Regions from separate parts of the Homo sapiens genome. Here region 2 is linked to region 1. The links are contacts of gene promoters, found by promoter capture Hi-C in blood cells and fetal thymus (Javierre and others, 2016). All regions are on one chromosome and are shown on one strand. Each heading gives the region's core, a stretch centred on a gene start or on the middle of the fragment in contact. The rest is flanking DNA. Distances are from core to core; before and after follow the strand shown.

Evidence for each region. The method cuts DNA at HindIII sites, captures the fragments that hold promoters and counts their contacts. A CHiCAGO score of 5 or more calls a contact.
Region 2: the fragment with the promoter of IRF3 here is called in contact with a fragment that was not itself captured in region 1 in 1 of 17 cell types (naive CD4 T cells); the score reaches 5.6 in naive CD4 T cells.

Annotation. Positions count from the first base shown.
Region 1 is chr19:49,226,407-49,228,999 of GRCh38, reverse strand. The region is part of intron 1 of LOC107985340 (a long non-coding RNA gene); the gene reads right to left. Among named protein-coding and RNA genes, the nearest start is that of TRPM4, 70 kb to the right of the region's middle. The HindIII fragment of the contact is 825 bases long and covers 872-1,696 here.
Region 2 is chr19:49,664,550-49,667,142 of GRCh38, reverse strand. It overlaps IRF3 (interferon regulatory factor 3), which reads left to right and starts at 1,286. Exons shown (of 8, transcript NM_001571.6): 1 at 1,286-1,512; 2 at 2,297-2,469. The coding sequence starts at 2,305. It overlaps BCL2L12 (BCL2 like 12), which reads right to left and starts at 1,210. Exons shown (of 7, transcript NM_138639.2): 1 at 1,076-1,210; 2 at 344-458; 3 at 1-124. The coding sequence starts at 450. RefSeq lists silencers at 1,038-1,117, 1,158-1,307. The HindIII fragment of the contact is 30,887 bases long and covers 1-2,593 here.

The DNA.
Region 1 (2,593 bases), core at 35-2,534:
CAGTTTGGGAGGCTGAGACCGGCAGATCATTTAATCTTAGGAGTTCAAGATCAGCCTGGGCAACGTAGTGAAGGCCCATCTCTACAAAAAATACAAAAACAATATTAGCCAGAAGTGGTGGCACACCTGTAATCCTAGCTACTTGGGAGGCTGAGGCGGGAGGATCCCCTGAACCCAGAAGGTTGAGGTTGCAGTGAGCCAAGATCACGCCACTGTACTCCAGCCTAGGTGACAGAGCAAGACCCTGTCTCTAATACAATAAAATTAAAATAAAAAAAAAATAAAAGTCCAGGTGTGGTGGCTCACGTCTGTAATCCCAGTACTTTGGGAGGCCGAGGAGGGGGAATCACCTCAGGTCAGGAGTTCAAGACCAGCCTGATCAACATGGAGAAACCACGTCTCTACTAAAAATACAAAATTAGCCGGGCATGGTGCCACATGCCTGTAATCGCAGCTACTTGGGAGGCTGAGGCAGAAGAATCGCTTGAACCCGGGAGGCAGAGGTTGCAACGAGCTGAGATCATGCCATTACACTCCAGCCTGGGCAACAAGAGTGAAACTCCATCTCAGAAAAAAAAAAAGTAAAAACTGGTCCCAGAGGACCAGTACATCTTATTTTGGACAACCAGGATATAGTCTAAGGCGACTCTATTGTCCATTATAAGCAGAGCAGAGAACTTTAGGCTGATCTGCTAAAATACCAAAAAAAGAAATTTAAAAATAAAAAAACTGATCTGATCTTTGATGTCTTTACAAACAATTACAGGGTGACAACAGATGAGCCTAAAAGCAACCCCCATCCACAATGGGCATGCCACAGCTTACCTCCCCAACCTGAGAAGAGACAGTCATTGGATTTTGTTGTTAAGCTTGGCTGGAATTACCGTTACATTGTCTCAGTTAAGCCACATAAGTAATATCAGCAGGTTGTTTCAACTAACACAGGAGTGAGCCAACTTTTTCTGGAAAGAACCAGGTAATAGTATTTTGGGTTTTGTAGGGCATTTGTTTTCTGTGGCATAGTCATCTTTTTCTTTTTTCTTTTTGAAACAAGATCTTGCTCTGTCACTGAGGCTGGAGAGCTGTGGTACAATAATATCTCACTGCAGCTTCGACCTCCCAGGCTCAAGCGATCCTCCCACCTCAGCCTCCCGAGTAGCTGGGACTACAGGCGTGCACCAGCACACCCAGCTAATTTTTAATTTTTTGTAGAGACAGGCTTTCACCACATAGCCCAGGCTAGTCTTGATCTCCTGGGCTCAAGTGATCCTTCTGCTTCAGCCTCCCCAAGTGCTAGGATTACAGAGGTGAGCCACCACACCTGGCTTTTTTTTTTTTTTTTTTTTTTTAAACAATTCTTGGCTGAGCCGTGGCTCACGCCTGTAATTCCAGCACTTTGGGAGGCTGAAGCAGGTGGATCACTTGAGGTCAGGAGTTCAAGACCAGGACGGCCAACATGGAGAAACCCCGTCTCTACTAAAAATACAAAAATTAGCCGGGCATGGTGGCGGGCACCTTTAATCCCAGCTACTCGGGAAGCTGAGGCAGGAGAATGGCGTGAACCCAGGAGGCGGAGCTTGCAGTGAGCCAAGATCATACCACTGCTCTCCAGCCTGGGCGACAAAGCGAGATTCCATCTCAAAAACAACAACAACAACAACAACAACAACACATTCTTTAAAATATATGAAAAGCTTTGTTAGTTTATAGACCACACAGAAACAGGTCACAGGCCAGATGTATCCCACAGGCTATAGTGTGCCAACTCCTGATCTAGCACCATGTCGGTCCAACAAGGGGATTCTGGTGCCTAAACCAGCATTAGTTTGAATCCCCTACTTGGCCCCCTCAGGACTCAACTGCCATCTGGAGGGCATGACCACCAGGCTGTCCAGCGGAAAGAAAGATGCATCATTCCCAACAATGGTCAGCGGGCAAAATTGTACTTTTTTTTTGAGACGGAGTCTTGCTCTGTCACCCAGGCTGGAGTGCAGTGGTGTGATCTCGGCTCACTGCAAGCTCCGCCTCCCGGGTTCATGCCATTCTCCTGCCTCAGCCTCCTGAGTAGCTGGGACTACAGGCGCCCGCCACCAAGCCCGGCTAATTTTTTGTATTTTTAGTAGAGACGGGGTTTCACCATGTTAGCCAGGATGGTCTCGATCTCCTGACCTCGGGTCTCTGTAACTCCTCCAACACTTCTGTCTCAGGGACTATCCAAGATGCAGCCAAGAAGAGATGAAGCCTCTTCTGGGACTGCCACATTCAGTGACCAAACGGCCTGAGTAAAGTGTGTGCGGCCGGGTGTGGTGGCTCACGCCTGTGATCCCCCCACTTTGGGAGGCCAAGACGGGTGGATCACTTGAGGTCAGGGGTTCGAGACCAGCTGGCCAACATGGTGAAACCTATCTCTACTAAAAATACAAAAATCACCTAGGCATGGTGACGCCTATAATCCCAGCTACTTGGGAGGCTGAGGCAGGAGAATCGCTTGAACCCAGGAGGCAGAGGTTACAGTGAGCCGAGATGGCACCACTGCACTCCAGCCTGAGCAACAGAGCATCTGTCTCAAAAAATAAATAAATAAAGTGTGTGG
Region 2 (2,593 bases), core at 37-2,536, 440 kb before region 1:
GGGGCGGATGGGCAGAGAGCAAGGCCGAGGGGACTCAGAGGGGGCTGCTCCTCGCCCCAGGGAGCAGGGAAGACATCTTCGAAGGCGGCTCAGGAAGTCTGTTGGCTCTTCTTGGGCAGGGCTTCTGGAGAGGAGGACTTCAGAGACTGACCCCACCAGAGATCCCCTGCAAGCAGTCTCTTTCCCCAACTCCCTCCCTCCCCCGCTGAGGACCTCTCTCCAAAACCCCAAAGACAGAGAATAGAGCCAGATATAAAGAGAGGAGACAGACTGAGACCAGGAGCAAGAGTTAGGAGGGAGCCTCAAATGCTGGCCCCTGGGGGAGAAGGGCCACTCCTCTTACCTAGGTGGAGTTGGAACAGGAGACCCGGCAGCCTCACCACGCCTAAGGAAGGCAGCTAGGACCCTCAGCGTGTCTTCCCGGAGCCCCAGCTCTTCAGAGCCTGCCATGGAGGCACCTGTGAGAGAGAGGGTTAGGGACTGGACTCCAAGGGTTTAGCAAGAAGTGGAGGCTTGGGGACCAGGACTTGTGAGTCCCAAGGAAGGTGCTGAGGGCCTGGACTCCTGGGTCCTTTGGAGAGTGTGGGTCTGGGGGCCTAGACTCTTGAGTCCTCAGACGAAAAAGCGATCAGGAAAAAGACTCTTCGATCCAAGGAAAGGTGGTGGGGCTGGGTGCCCAGATTCGTGGGTCTAAAGGAGGAGGGAGCTGGGGTCCTGGACTTCTGAGTCTTAGAGAAAAAGGAACTGGAGCCCCAGACCCTTAGGTCTCCCAGGAAGAAGAGGCTTAGCGCCCCAACTCCTGGATTCTATAAGAGGCATATGCCAAACTCCTGAAACCCTTAAAGCATCGGGAACTACCAATCCCAAGAGGTTTCAGGGCAAATCTTCCCCTAGGTCCGCGCTTCTTCGCCGCGCAGCCTGCTGTGAGGTGTAGTTCCAAATCTCCGACCCCTGCTGGAATCTAGAGGACCCTGGACCCTTGGATATCAGAGAAGCGGGACTGGGGTGCCCACCACTGGATCCCGGCCCCCTCCTCTTCCCTCCTCACCCCACCCCTCGTCAACACCCCGCTGACCTGGTCCGGGGCCCCACCGCCGCCTCCTCCACTCAACTTGCGGTCTCCTCCACTGAACTCGTACAAACTTTATTAGTTCAACTTTCCCGCGCCTGCGCACTGGGCCGGGTCGATAACCGGCCCAGCGTAGAAAGGGCGGAACGCTGGGTGCACGCTCAATTTGCATGTGACGCTCCCAGCATGCCTCTGGCCGGAAACCCAAAAAAGGGCATAGGGGCGGGAACAGCCCAGCGGGCCGTCCCATCGGCTTTTGGGTCTGTTACCCAAAGAATGATAAAGTTGGTTTTATTTCAAGAAGTCGATCAAAAAGAAAGCCCCAGCGCTCTAGAGCTCAGCTGACGGGAAAGGGGGTGCGCAGCCTCGAGTTTGAGAGCTACCCGGAGCTCCAAGACAGGGGTGGGTTCCAGCTGCCCGCACGCCCCGACCTTCCATCGTAGGTAACGCGGAAGAGCCCGGGAGAGCGTTGGTGGCGTCCGAGAGCGAGGAGCGGGAAAGAGGATGGGTCTGCACGGAGAGTGGAAAGGCAGGCTGTGTACTCTGGGGAAAGTGGAGCAAGGAAGGAGCTACAGTGGCCGACGCTGGAGGTCGGCTGCAGAAAAACTAGAAAAAGTAGGGAGGAAAGAGGAAAAGAGGAGGCGTCTACACTGAGGGGGTTCTAGAGAGGGAGGGGTGGACTCCGTAGATGGGGGTAGTTCAGTCTCGAAACCTGGGGCGTGCTCTGTCCTGGAGGAGGGAGGCGGGCAGTCGGAGGGGAATTGAATGGAAGTTCTGTGTTGGAAATGTTTTGGGAGATCTTCTGTAGGGGGACTGTGGAAGGGGGTCTACATTGGGGTAAGTGCAGGAGGTAGAGGCTTACACGTGAATCGATTCTGCACTGAAATAACTAGGGAAAGAGGATGCTACCCTGAAAGTGGGGATACTTACTTTCGATGATGTGGGGGAGGGAGGAGGTCTATACTGGCGGAATTGAGGGAGTGGAGGGTCTGCACTGAAGACGCTGGGGAAGGATGTGCCATGGATATGGGAAGGAACCCTAGCTGATTAGAGAGCCTCTCGGGAGGATGGGAGGATGGGAAGAGGAGGTTTCCTGTTTGTACCCCCGAAAATATGGGTGAAGGACCTGTGCCGTGGCCCGTGAGAAGGAGGTCTGGGTGCGGAAACTCCAGGCCAGGTGGGTCCGGGGGAGGCCGGTCGCGCCCAGGAAATGCCCTATACGCGCAGGCCGGACCATGGGAACCCCAAAGCCACGGATCCTGCCCTGGCTGGTGTCGCAGCTGGACCTGGGGCAACTGGAGGGCGTGGCCTGGGTGAACAAGAGCCGCACGCGCTTCCGCATCCCTTGGAAGCACGGCCTACGGCAGGATGCACAGCAGGAGGATTTCGGAATCTTCCAGGTGCGTGCGACGACCTGGGACGCTGGAAACCCGGAGCTGCGCGCTGGGCGGAAAGGACTCCTAGTGGGCCCGGCTGAGAAGGCGGAGGTGGCGCGCGAGGGGCGGGCTCGTGCCAACGCTGGTG